3 separate regions of the Homo sapiens genome follow, and regions 2 and 3 are each linked to region 1. The links are contacts of gene promoters, found by promoter capture Hi-C in blood cells and fetal thymus (Javierre and others, 2016). All regions are on one chromosome and are shown on one strand. Each heading gives the region's core, a stretch centred on a gene start or on the middle of the fragment in contact. The rest is flanking DNA. Distances are from core to core; before and after follow the strand shown.

What was found. The method cuts DNA at HindIII sites, captures the fragments that hold promoters and counts their contacts. A CHiCAGO score of 5 or more calls a contact.
Region 2: a contact is called between a fragment that was not itself captured here and the fragment with the promoter of LSM10 in region 1, in 1 of 17 cell types (neutrophils). The highest score is 5.5, in neutrophils.
Region 3: a contact is called between a fragment that was not itself captured here and the fragment with the promoter of LSM10 in region 1, in 1 of 17 cell types (neutrophils). The highest score is 5.2, in neutrophils.

What each region holds. Positions count from the first base shown.
Region 1 is chr1:36,395,582-36,400,062 of GRCh38, reverse strand. It overlaps LSM10 (LSM10, U7 small nuclear RNA associated), which reads left to right and starts at 2,155. Exons shown (of 2, transcript NM_032881.3): 1 at 2,155-2,296. RefSeq lists enhancers at 1,586-2,297, 2,298-3,010. The HindIII fragment of the contact is 5,014 bases long and covers 1,763-4,481 here.
Region 2 is chr1:36,167,535-36,172,015 of GRCh38, reverse strand. It overlaps MAP7D1 (MAP7 domain containing 1), which reads right to left. Exons shown (of 17, transcript NM_001388490.1): 2 at 701-1,045; 3 at 435-503. Among named protein-coding and RNA genes, the nearest start is that of MAP7D1, 14 kb to the right of the region's middle. The HindIII fragment of the contact is 824 bases long and covers 1,488-2,311 here.
Region 3 is chr1:36,238,196-36,242,676 of GRCh38, reverse strand. All of the region lies in intron 1 of THRAP3 (thyroid hormone receptor associated protein 3), which reads right to left. It also overlaps the pseudogene UBE2V2P4. Among named protein-coding and RNA genes, the nearest start is that of THRAP3, 16 kb to the right of the region's middle. The HindIII fragment of the contact is 4,351 bases long and covers 1-4,136 here.

The DNA.
Region 1 (4,481 bases), core at 906-3,405:
TACAAAAATTAGCCGGGTGTGGTGGTGCACACCTGTAATCCCAGCTACTTGGGAGGCTGAGGCAGGAGAATTGCTTCAACCCGGGAGGCGGAGGTTGTAAGCCGAGATCAGGCCATTGCACTCCAGCCTGGGCAACAAGAGTGAAACTCCATCTCAAAAACAAAAAAAAATTTAGAGATGGGGTCTCACTATGTTGCCCAGGCTGGTCTCAAACTCCTGAGCTTAAACAGTCCTCTTGCCTTGGCCTCCCAAAGTGTTGGGATTACAGGTGTGAGCCACCACCCCCAGCCAAGAAGCCTAATTTACTGAGCTTCTTCTCTGTGCCAGATGCTTTCACACATTAATGAAGGTCACTTAAATCTTACAGTTCTCTGAGAAAGGCCTAATTTTTTGTTTTCATAACAAGCAAATTGAGGCTGAGGAAGAAAGTAATTTTTCCAAGGCTATACAGAGTGACTTTTAAAAAATGTAAATCAGGTGGGGCACAGTGGCGTGTGCCTGTAGTCCCAGCTATTCTTGAGGCTTGGGTAGGAGGATCACTTGAGCCCAGGTAGTTGAGGCTGCAGTGAGCTATGATCACACCACTGCACTCCAGCCTGGATGACAGGGTGAGAACCTGTCTCTACAAGTAAATCAAATCACTTCGCTCCCTTTCAATAGCCTGTCATAGCACTTCTAGTACTAGATGAGAAGACTGAGGCACAGAGAAGATACTAACTTGCCCAAAGTCACAATTAGCCAGGAGTAGATTTGAACCTAGGCACTGTATCCGGAGGCTGCACTCCTAACCATGAAATCTAAACTCCTTACCTTGGCTCACAAAGCCCTATATGCTCTGGTTCCTGCTTCCTCTCTGGCCTCTTGTTATACCACTCTCCCCAGCTTCCCTGGCCTTTCCTGTGTTCCTAAATTGTCAAGGTCATTTCCCCCAGGTTCTTTGCATGAACTGTGAAAAGAAAAAATTTAACTTTTAATTGGTGATTTGACTTTTTTTTGCCAAATTTGTTAAATCTGACTTTTATTTGCAACTCTAGAATCGGGCAACACTTCATTCTATAAAATGGAATGAGTGTTCAAATGAGCTGAGCAGAGGAGATTGGTTTTACAGCCAGAAAAGGGCTGAGGAAAGCAGAAACAGAAAACAAAAAGATTGGTTGTTTCAAAGTTACTTTCCTTGTAACTTTGAAGGCTAAAGCAGAGGGGACTTCCTTATCCTGCCAGCTAAAACAGGATGGTTTGGAGATCTAGCTATCTCTCACTCTTCTGATTTATCGGAATATCAGATAAACAACTTAGTTTCCACTTGGTGATGTAGAACTTTAGCATGAGTGACTCCATTTTGGTTCTGTTGGGCTTGGTGCAGGAGCCCTGTTCAAACCAATGGCCTCCAATTTTTTTTTTTTTTTGAGACGGAGTCTTGCTCTGTTGCCCAGGCTGGAATGAAGTGTTACTTTCTGAGCTCACTGCAGCCTCCACTTCCTGGATTCAAGCAATTCTCCTGCCTCAGCCTCCCAAGTAGGTGGGACCAGAGGTGTACGCCACCACGGTGGGCTAATTTTTTCTATTTTTTGTAGAGACAGGGTCTCCCCATTGTTGCCCAGACTGGTCTCGAACTCCTGGGCTCCAGTGATCCTTCCGCCTTGTCCTCCAAAGTGCTGGGATTACAGGTGTGGGCCTCTGCACCCGGCCCTGCCTCCTATAAATTTTACTTAACAAACTGTTCCCGCTAATTGCAATGCTCCTCCCATAGTTTTCACAAGCTTGGCTTCATGTCACTAATCTCAACTCAAATGTCACCTTCTCAGGGCACCCCTGACAATCCAATAAAAGACCACCTTGTCACCATCACATCACACCTTTAATCTTCTGAAGAAATTTTTCCCTATTTTTCTTCTTTGTTTTCTTAAGACTCTCTCCCCTGCAGCGCCATCAGCTCAGGGAGCCACTTGATCTTGGTCACTGCTCCATGCCGGAGCCTGGGAAGGAGCCTGGCCCAGGTCGCCGGTTCAATGAATGCGTGCGGAATGAATGAACGACTCTAGTGAAAGAGACTCCAATGACGCAGGCCGGGATTTGCGGAGCACGAGCCCCGCGCCGCGAAGCATTCTGGGGATTGTAGTTTCTCCGTGACGCGGTGACTTGCAGAGCACTGACGCACTCTGCGCCCGGAGGACAGAGCGGCCCGGTCGCCGGCATGGTTTCTCCGTCCTGCTGCAGCCGGCGGGAGGCAGCCAGTCCAGGCGCCCGCTAGCTTCGGCGGCGACCCAGACGGGGAAAGCGGAAGGAATGTCGCGTGGTGGGTCCGGGTCGGCGGTGCAGGGAGCCCCGGGGCGGAATGCGGGGGATGCCAGGACCTCCGGAAGGAGGTGCCGGAGCCCAGGAAGCGTTTTCTTCCCCATTTACCGAGTATAGCTCCTTTCCCCAGACCCGCTCCCGCTGCTCTGAGTAAGCGGTGCTCATCCCGTTTTACCGGTAGCTTAGCTAGCTTGGAGAAGCTAAGTGGTTTGCTAAGTGATCGCCCTCCTAGGAGGTGGCAAAGCCTGTTCTAGAACCCGGGCCTGACTCGAGGTCCGGTGACTGCTCTTTGCAGTCGCAGCAGCAGCCCCATACCTTTGCTTGATCGCAGATTCATCAGGCTGCAGCCGGGTGGCTGGTCGTTAGGCCATGCCCAGGGACCTAGCTCCCAGGCCCCCTCGTCACTGGCCTAGTCTGGCTTGCCACGCTCAGTGCCACAATGCACAGCCCTGGACGGGATGCTGAGTGAGGTCGTAAAGAGAGAGCGTTCCACCCCCTTTAACTCAGGTCTGAAAATAAGGGATAGGTAAGACATAGTGCACTAATACATTATCAGGGCATGTTGAAATCAAAGGAGAGTACCTTTAGTGGAGTGTGATTCTGGTAGCTTTGTTTCTCCTGTAGTTTAATAAATGTGGAAACAGGTTCAGAGACATTAACTTTTCTAGGTTTTCATAATTAGGGGTGGAGTGGGGATTCCAACCTAGGTTTCTCTACCTTCAAAACCTATGTACCTTATATAATACCGGTTGGGGGTTTTTTTCCCCAATTCATTATCCAGATTTATTTTCTTTTTTTTTTTCTGAGAGTCTCGCTGTGTCACCCAGGCTGGTGTGCAGTGGCACAATCTTGGCTCACTGTAACCTCTGCCTCCTGGGTTCAAGCGATTCTCCTGCTTCAGCCTCCCAAGTAGCTGAGATTACAGGTGCGCCCATGCCCAGGTAATTTTTGTATTTTTGGTAGATACTGGGTTTCACCATGTTGGCCAGGCGGGTCTTGAACTCCTGACCTCAGGTGATCCACTCGCCTTGGCCTCCCAAAATCCTGGGATTACAGGCGTGAGCCCTTGCACCCGGCCTCATTACCTTAATTTCTACTTACATAACAGCTGCATGGTGTAGACCAATAGTTCCCAGAGTGTGGGCCCCTGACCAGCAGCATCAGCATCACCTGGGAACATGTTCAAAATGACTTTATCTCTGGGCCTCACCTCAGACCTGAGTCAAACTGGGAGTGGGGCCCAGCAAGCTGAGTTAACAAGCCCCTCAGATGATTCTGATACACACTAATGTTTGAGAACTACTGGTGTCAACCAATGATTCTCAAACCTTAACGTGTATCTAATTCACGTAGGGGGTCATGTTAAAATGCAGTCTGTTTCCAGCCAGCGTGGAAGATGGCAGTGAGCCACTCAGTGAAGGAGTGGATTTTATCTCAGAACAGGCTTGGGGAGAGACCTGAGATTGCGCATTTCTAACCAGTACCCCTCAGCACTTTGGAGTTATCTGGGGAGCTTTCTTTTTTTTTTTTTTTTTTTTTTTTTTGAGATGGAGTCACTCTGCTGCCCAGGCTGGAGTGCAGTGGCACTCCACTTGCAGCTCACTGCAAGCTCTGTCTCCCAGGTTCACGCCATTCTCCTGCCTCAGCCCCCCGAGTAGCTGGGACTACAGGCGCCCGCCACCACGCCTGGCTAATTTTTTTGTATTTTTAGTAGAGATGGGGGTTTCACCATGTTAGCCAGGATGGTCTTGATCTCCTGACCTCATGATCCGCCCGCCTCGGTCTCCCAAAGTGCTGGGATTACAGGCGTGAGCCACCGCGCCCAGCCGGGAGCTTTTACAAAATAGGATACCTGGGCCCACCCCTCTAACCAAACGAATCAGAATCTCTGGGGTGGGGAGGTTGGGTTAAAAACTCACCAGATGATTCTAATGCACACCTGGTGTGAGGTTTGGAGCCAGACGGCTATGGATTTTCTTTTTTTTTTTTTTTGAGACAGAGTCTCTCTGTTACCCAGGCTGGAGTGCAGTGGCGTGATCTTGGCTCACTGCAGCCTCCACCTCCCGGATTCAAGCGATTCTCCTGCCTCAACCTCCGGAGCAGCTGTGATTATAGGTGCTCACCACCATGCCCGACTAATTTTTGTATTTTTAGTAGAGATGGGGTTTCACCATATTGGCCAGGCT
Region 2 (4,481 bases), core at 650-3,149, 230 kb after region 1:
AGATGTGTGTCCTGCTCTTAGCACAGTGCACATAATTAAGTGTTGCAGAAGTGTTGGTTTTTTTTTTTTTTTTTTTTTTTTGAGACGGAGTTTTGCTCTTGTTGCCCAGACTGGAGTGCAATGGCACAATCTCGGCTCACCACAACCTCCGCCTCCCAGGTTCAAGCAGTTCTCCTATCTCAGTCTCCCGAGTAGCTGGGATTACAGGGATGTGCCACCATGCCTGGCTAATTTTTTGTATTTTTAGTAGAGACAGGGTTTCTCCACATTGGTCAGGCTAGTCTCAAACTCCTGACCTCAGGTGATTCGCCCGCCTCGGCCTCCCAAAGTGCTGGGATTACAGGCGTGAGCCACTGCGCCCCAGCCTGTTGGTGTTATTAATAGGATGCTGATGATGACGATGAAGAAGATGATGAGGCTTCCTGCTCACTCACCCAGGTACTTGGCCCGCTCTTCTCGCCGCTCCTTTGCCAGCTTGTGTCTCTCTCCTGCCTTCTTCACCTCTGAGCAGAGGGAACAAGAACAGACAGGTCAAAAGGCTGTCCCCAAAGAGGAGTCAGCCTCAGATCCCTCCCTCCGGGCCTCACCCCATCCTTTCTTTATCTCCTCTAGGGCAAACAGGACTCTTTCAGTTGGCATGATCCAGGGCCAGGACCCTGAGCCAAGAGGTTTAGGCCCAGGCCGGGGTCATTACACACACCTTGCTTGGTGGGAGGGCTGTCGGAGGCTGGCACTGCTGTTGGAGATGGCTGGCTGCTCCTTCGAGGAGGTCTGGCATCCCGTGGGCCCATGGCTGGTGGGGTGGGTCCTCTGCTCTTTGCTTCAGAGGAAGGGGACTCTTCCTGCGGGGGGGCTGGCCTAGGCCCGACCTGCCCTGAGGGGCTCTCTGGTTCCAGTGGGAGCTGCTTAGAGCTAGTGGCATTCTTCATGGCAGGAGGGGTGTCCGGGGGAGTGTCGGGGACCAGGGCTGACATTGGTGGTGGTGGGGGGGAAGGGTCACCTTCTGGAGAAGGTCTTGGCTCTGGGGGGGTCCTGGCGACCACAGCTGAAAGACCAACACAAGAGAGGAGAGAGGTCAGATTGCTCATCTGTGCCATCAGCCCCATATGTGGCCCTCTCCCTTGTTCAACCGACTTCTTCATTCACTTATGTTTGAGTTATTTCTATGTGCCGGGCCCTGTTCCAGATACTCATGATATAATGGTGAGAAAATAGCCATGATCCCTGCCTCTGTGGCGCTTACCCTCTAGCAGGGCAGACAGACAAATAGCTAGGCAACTACAGTAGAGAATAAATACTATGTCTGGGGCAGCAAAGCAGAGATAGTTAACCTATATGGGGAGGGCTTGCTGAAGAAGTAACAACCAAGCTGAGATCCGAAGGATAAGCTGGAGTCAGCAAAGCAAGGAGGAGAGGTGTTGGCAGAGAAGAGTATATGCGAAGGGGCAGAATGGAGCAGGGTGTGTTGGAAAAGCTGAGAACAAGCTTGTAGCACTTATTCGTGCACCAAATGCACTGATTGTTTCCATGTCTGCCTCCCTCTCCTTTCTGCTTTACTTCTGGGTGACTGTGCCCAACCCAAGGTCTGTTCACAGAGGGTGCCAGTGCTGGGCACATGGGACTGACCAAGAGGAAGGACGTAAGTATGGGCTCTAGTGGAATGCTTTGCTGTGAAGATTCCATTGGCAACAAGCTACGTCCACTTTATAATCTTTTTTCCCCAAGCCACACCGAAATTTCTGCTTTTAAGACATGACTATTGTAGGAATCCTGTAAAAGACATCGAAGTGAAGTAAGGGAGCCACACGATTTGACATATACACATGTGGGGCAATTGAGAGACAGGCTTCAGAGTCAGTCAGATGAGGAAGATGGGAAGAGAGGGCTTGTTTCCCCAGCAGACAACCATGGACAAGCCAGTCAACCTCTCTCAGCCTCAGGTTTTTTTGTTTTGTTTTGTTTTGTTTCCCCCCAAGTCTACTTGCTGCTAGTGAATTTTTCAAGGGTCTAGTTAGTTCCTTTAAGTCTCTTTTTTTAAATTTTTATTTTTTAAGAGATAGGGTCTTGCTATGTGGCCCAGGCTGGATTCAAACTCCTGAGTTCAAGAGATCCTTCTGCCTCAGTCTCCCAAGTAGCTGGGATTACAGGCCCATGCCTGGCTCAGCCTCAGTTTTGATACCTGTAAAATGGGGATAACAAGCCCAAGCTAGTAGGGAATGTCAGCAAGGTGCCTGGCACTATCCACATGCCAGCCAGCAAACAGCACTCCCTGTTGGTCTTATGAAGCCTCCTGGTCTCCCAAACAGAAGCTTCTGTATGTTGAGCCCTGGTGCCATCTGCTGCTACCATCCAGGCACTGAGGAGATCAATGGGAACACAGCTACCAACTTGCTTAGGGAGCAGGGCCGGCATCTGTGGGAAGCTTCATCTAAGGAAACATTTTTCTTTTTTTTTTTTTTTGAGACGGAGTCTCGCTCTGTCACCCCGGCTGGAGTGCAGTGGCGCAATCTGGGCTCACCGCAAGCTCCGCCTCCTGGGTTCACCCCATTCTCCTGCCTCAGCTTCCCGAGTAACTGGGACTACAGGCGCCCGCCACCACGCCTGGCTAATTTTTTGTATTTTTAGTAGAGACGGGGTTTCACGGTGTTAGCCAGGATGGTCTCAATTTCCTGACCTCATGATCCGCCCGCCTCAGCCTCCCGAAGTGCTGGGATTACAGGCGTGAGCCACTGCCCACCGCGCCCGGCCTTTTTTTTTTTTTTTCAAGACAGAGCCTTGCTCTGTTGCCCAGGCTGGAGTGCATTGGCACGATCTCGGCTCACTGCAACCTCTGCCTTCCAAGTTCAAGTGATTATCCTGCCTCAGCCTCCCAAGTAGCTGGGATTACAGGCACCTGCCACCACGCCCAGCTAATTTTTGTATTTTTAGTAGAGACGGCGTTTCACCATGTTGGCCAGGCTGGTCTCGAACTCCCGACTTCAGGTGGTCTGCCCGTCTCGACCTCCCAAAGTGCTGGGATTACAGGCATGAGCCACTGCACCCGGCCTTATATGTTATTAGTTTTAATCCTCACTGACAATAGTTATGAAGGAGTCCTCATATAGATGAGGACAGTAAAGTAAAAAAAGATGAAGCAAAAAAAAGAGGTAATTTGAGATCATTCAGCTGGTCAGTCAGGGAGCCTGGACTTGGACCCAGTAGCCATCATCAGAGCCTGTCCTTACCCATTATACCCTCCTGCCTTGTTGAAGGCAATATGAGGGAATAGGTGTTACGCAATAAATTATCTGAGGCTCACACTATTTTCCGCCTCATTCCTTCCCATCCAGCTTGCTAGGATCCAGGCAAGAGCCCCAGCTGAGGCCCTGTCTTCCCCATTACCCCTCCAACTCCACCAACTCCACCAACTCCTAGGCTACATGACAAGCCACCCATCTCTTCCCATACCAGCAGGAGACGGCTGCCTGGTCACTGCTAATCTATTTCCCAGCCAACTGCAAACTCCTTTACCAATTCCAGTAGTCAACAAAACCAGTTACTCACTCTAGTGAGTGCTTACTACTCACTAACAGTGGTGCACCCTGTGTCCTCGCAATTCTGAGAGGCAGAGATTCTTATCCCCATTATACAAGTGTGGCAACCAAGGCCCAACCTGCAAAGTGATCCACACAGAGTCATAGAACTAGTATGTGGCAGAGTTGGGCTTTTTTTTTTTTTTTCCTGAGATGGAGTCTCACTCTGTTGCCAGGCTGGAGTGCAGTGGTGCGATCTCGGCTCACTGCAACCTCTGCCTCCCAGGTTCAAGCAATTCTCCTGCCTCAGCCTCCAGAGTAGCTGGGACAACAGGCAGGCACCACCACACCCAGCTAATTTTTGTATTTTTAGTAGAGACGGGGTTTCACCATGTTGGCCAGGCTGGTCTCCATCTCTTGACCTCGTGATCCGCCCTCCTCAGCCTCCCAAAGTGCTGGGATTACAGGCGTGAGCCACCGCACCCAGCCTAGAGTTGGGATTTGAACTCAGGACTGTCTGAAGCCAAAGCCTGGGTGTGTAAGTATTAAGCTTGAAGGTTGAGGGTGAGGTCTGTTTATTGCCATTCTCCAAGCACCTGTGCGTGCTGCAGGTGTTGCAAGGAAAACTGGTAGGCGGGTGTTTGTCTACACCTAGGCAAATCACACCCACCAGGCAAGACAGTCAGTGAGTCCCCAGCAAGGTCCTGACTCGCTATGTGAAAGGAGGCTGGGAGGAGGTAGAGGAGTGAGGCTTGGAAGAACCTGCACCCAGGCATCAGATGCAGTGGAGCAGAAAGGTCACAGGCTTCAGAGTCTGACAGGCCTGACTGAGGACCTCGGCTCCCGGCGAACCTCGGGCAAGCCCTGAGCCTGTGTAACCACAGTTCCCTCATGGAGTTGTTGGCACACATGGGGAGTTGGTACAGACGGGTACATCATCGGTGGCACCTGGCAGGGGCTTGGTAAGCA
Region 3 (4,481 bases), core at 712-3,211, 160 kb after region 1:
ATCCAGACCATCCTGGCTAACACAGTGAAACCCCGTCTCTACTAAAAATACAAAAAATTAGCCGAGCGTGGTGGCTGGCGCCTGTAGTCCCAGCTACTTAGGAGGCCGAGACAGGAGAATGGCGTGAACCCATGAGGCAGAGCTTGCAGTGAGCGGAGATCGCGTCTCTGCACTCCAGCCTGGGCGACAGAGCAAGACTCCATCTCAAAAAAAAAAAAAAAAAAAATCAAAACAGACGGCTCGCACCTGTAATCCCAGCACTTTGAGAGACTAAGCTGGGAAGCTCACTTCAGCCCAGGAGTTCAAGATCAACCTGGGCAACATGGCAAGACCTGGTCTCTACAAAATATAAAGAAAATTAGCCAGGCATCATGGCGCACACCTGTGGTCCCAGCTACTCTGGAGGCTGAGGCAGGAGGATCATTTCGGCCCAGGAGTTCGTATGTTCGTGCCACTGTACTCCAGCCTGTGGGACAGTGAGACCTTGTCTCAAAAAACAAATAAATGAACAAACAAAAAAATGAAAGCAGAATATATAACCTGAAGTAGAATGTAGACCTAAATACCCAGAAGCTCCATCAGTTAGGTTTATAACAAAAATTATTATGAATGGAAAAATTAATTCCAGCGGGACTGTGGATGCATGGAGCATACCAGTGTTAGCAAAATGGCAAAATCCATACAACATTAAAGTTCTACTTACTTCAAGAGCTAAGACATCTAATGACATCCAAAGAAAATAAGTAGCTTCCACAGCCACCAGAAGTAAAACCATGACAATTAATTTTAGCAGATCTTGGCCGGGCATGGTGGCTCACACCTGTAATCCCAACACTTTGGGAGGCCGAGGTGGGTGGATCACCTGAGGTCAGGAGTTCGAGGCCAGCCTGACTAATGTGGTGAAACTCCATCTCTAAGAAAAATACAAAAATTAGCCAGGCATGGTGGTGGGTGCCTGTAGTCCTAGCTACTCTGGAGGCTGAGGCAGGAGAACTGCTTGAACCCAGGAGGTGGAGATTGCAGTGAGCCAAGATCACGCCACTGCACTCCAGCCTGGGCAACAGAGCAAGACTCTGTCTGAAAAAAAAAAAAAAAAAAATTTTAGCGGATCTTAAACTTCAGTCAACCTTCTACTCATGTTAATGTCTTAATTAAATATCACAATGCAAAATACTCACACATTAAGAATTTCTGCTGGTAAACATGACCTGGACATTTGTAAGAATATATATTTATTTATATATGTGTATATATATATATATATATATATATATATATATATATATATATACACCCATTATCATTTCAGATAATGGGAAGAAAAATACAGCACAATTTTTTTTCTCATTAGGGCACTGTCATTTAAACATAAACCTGAAGTACTCTAAAGAGAATTCAGGTTTACAAAAACAAGTGTGGTGAGAGGTGTCAGGTGTCAGCGGCACGTATTTCTGAAAAGTAAAAATCTTTTTTTTTTTTTTTTTGAAACGGAGTCTTGCACTGTCGCCCAGGCCCGATCTCGGCTCACTGCAAGCTCCGCCTCCTGGGTTCACGCCATTCTCCTGCCTCAGCCTCCCAAGTAGCTGGGACTACAGGCACCTGCCACCACGCCCGGATAATTTTTTTGTATTTTTAGTAGAGACGGGGTTTCACCGTGTTAGCCGGGATGGTCCCGATCTCCTGACCTCGTGATCCGCCCACCTCAGCCTCCCAAAGTGCTGGGATTACAGGCGTGAGCCACTGCGCCCGGCCGAAAAGTAAAAATCTTAAGAAGGAAAAAACAGAAATGGCACACTTTACCTATTTTGCTTAGTGAAAAACTGCAGCCAAAATTGTTTAAAGTAGCAGGTAAAATAAATATTATCACAAATTATGTTAATTTTTGAAGCGGTGCAGGTGCTGACTTCTAGAAGTATCCAAAATATACACAAGAAAAAAAAAATCCAAAATATGTCCAGGATTATTTTGATACCTATATTTATACCAAAAAAAATGTTAAGGGCTGTGATGGTTAATATTAGGTGTCAACTTGACTGGACAGAGGAATAGCTATATGGCTGAGGCAATGTTCCTGGGTACGTCTGTGAGGGTGTTGCCAGAGAAGACTGACATGTGAGTGAGTGGACTGTGAGAGGAACCAGCCCACATGTCCAGCTGGACTCTCAATGTGGGTGGGACACCATTCAATCAGCTTTAAGCACAGCTAAACAATGGGGATAAGTAGATTGCTTGCTGAGTCTGCTCTCTCTCTCATGCTGTGACAGATGCCTGGCTTCCTCTCCTCCTGCCCTTAGACATCAGACTCCAGGTTCTTCAGCCTTTGGACTCTAGGACTTGCACTAGAGGCCTCCCAGGGGCTCTCGGGCCCTTTCACCTCAAACTAAGGGCTGCACTGTTGGCTTCCCTGGTTTTGAGGCTTTTAGACTTGGACTGAGCCACGTGACCAGCTTCTCTCTTTCCCCAGCTTGCAGACAGCCTATCATGGAACTTCACCCTGTAACTGTGAGAGCCAATTCTTCCTAATAAACTCACTTTTATTTATACATATACCCTTTGGTTCTGTCCCTCTGGAGAACCTTAATGTAGGGGGGTTGATGAATTTCTGTTACAAGCTGTTCTTATGTGTTACATGTAACAGACATGGTAAATATTTATATTCTTTGTGTAACAAACCATGCCTTTACGTGAAGTCAACTAAAAAACAAACACATAGGGATATGTCATTCTGAGCTCAAGGTTTATCTTAAAATGTAAATAAATTGTGAAATGTAGCCACAAAAACAAATGATTAAGATGATAAAATTTTATGTTATACATATTTTACCACGAAAAAAGTAAAATGAGTTGATTAGTGGAAAGAAGTGACAAAGCAATTAAGCAAATGCTAACAAATGTAAAATCTAGGTGATGGACATATAGGTCTCACTGTACTGTACAATTGTTTCAACTTTTTTGTATGCTTGAAATCTTTCCTAATAAAATGTTGGAGGAAAACAGAAATCAAAGATATTGCCATCCCTGCTAGAATACACTTGATACAGAGTGATTAACCTACCCAGAACCAGGGAAACAAAGGCCTTACAGGGATGATGAAATGTAAAAGCCAGTTTGGCCAGGTAAGGTGGCTCATGCCTGTAACCCCAGCAATTTAGGAGGCCGAGGTGAGAGGATTACTTGAGCACAGGCATTAAAGACCAATCTGGGCAACATGGTGAAACCTCGTCTCTACTAAAAACACAAAAATTAGCTGGCCATGGTGGCGCAAACCTGTAATCCCATCTACTTGGGAGGCTGAGGCAGGAGAATCGCTGAAAGCCGGTGCAGGGGCGGCGGAGGTTGTAGTAAGCTGACATCGAGCCACTGCACTCCAGCCCGGGTAATAGAGCGAGAAGCTGACTCAAAAAAAAAAAAAAAAAAAAGACCAGCCTGGGCAACACAGGGAGACCCCGCCTCTACAGAAAATAAAAAAACACGGCCGGGCATGGTGGCTCACACCTGTAATCCCAGAACTTTGGGAGGCCGAGGCGGGCGGATCACCAGCTCAGGAGATCGAGACCATCCTGGCTAACAAAAAAATTAGCCGGGTGTGGTTGTGGGCACCTGTACTCCCAGCTACTTGGGAGGCTGAGGCAGGAGAATGGCGTGAACCCAGGAGGCGGAGCTTGCAGTGAGCCGAGATCGCGCCACTGCACTCCAGCCTAGGCGACAGAGCAAGACTCCATCTCAAAAAATAATAATAATAATTAAACAATAAAGAAAGAAAGAAAGAACAGTCGGGCATGGTGGCATGCACCTACAGTCCCAGCTACTTACTTGTGAAGCTGAGGTGGAAGGATCACTCGATCCTCTCAGGATCAGGAGTCACCTTTCAAGCCCAGGAGTTTGAGGGGCAGTAGTAAGCTATGACTGCACCACTGCACTCCAGCCTGGGCAATGAAATAAGACCTTGTCTCCAAAAAAACGAAACAAAACAAAAGCCCGAAAAGCTCACTCATTACACTAAATCTTCTAAAAGTGTTGCTGACTAAAAGTCCATTTTAGCTACATTCAATGAGATCATCACAACAGCTGTAATAACACTAACCAGTGGGAAGAGATCTGCCTACCATAGCCCCAAAATAGACACTAAACAAGCTTTAGCTCACTCATCATAAATATCCAGTATCCTGAAGGCAACACTTGAAGCCCCAATCTAAGCAATAAATTAGTCTACCCCTAAAAAAATAATCTGGATAGGAATTAAATCTGAAAATGATACGAATCAAAAAAGATTTTTCATACCACATATTTCCATTCCAATAAATGCCTAGCACTCATAGGCAAGTACTTAATGCCTAATTTCCAAATTTCCCACAAACAGAAAAATCAAGTAACATCAAATGTGGTACTTAATCTAAATTCTAGTTCAGGCTGAGCACGATGTTTTACCCATATAATCCTAGCACTCTGAGGAAGCTGAGGTGGGCAGATGGCTGGAGGTC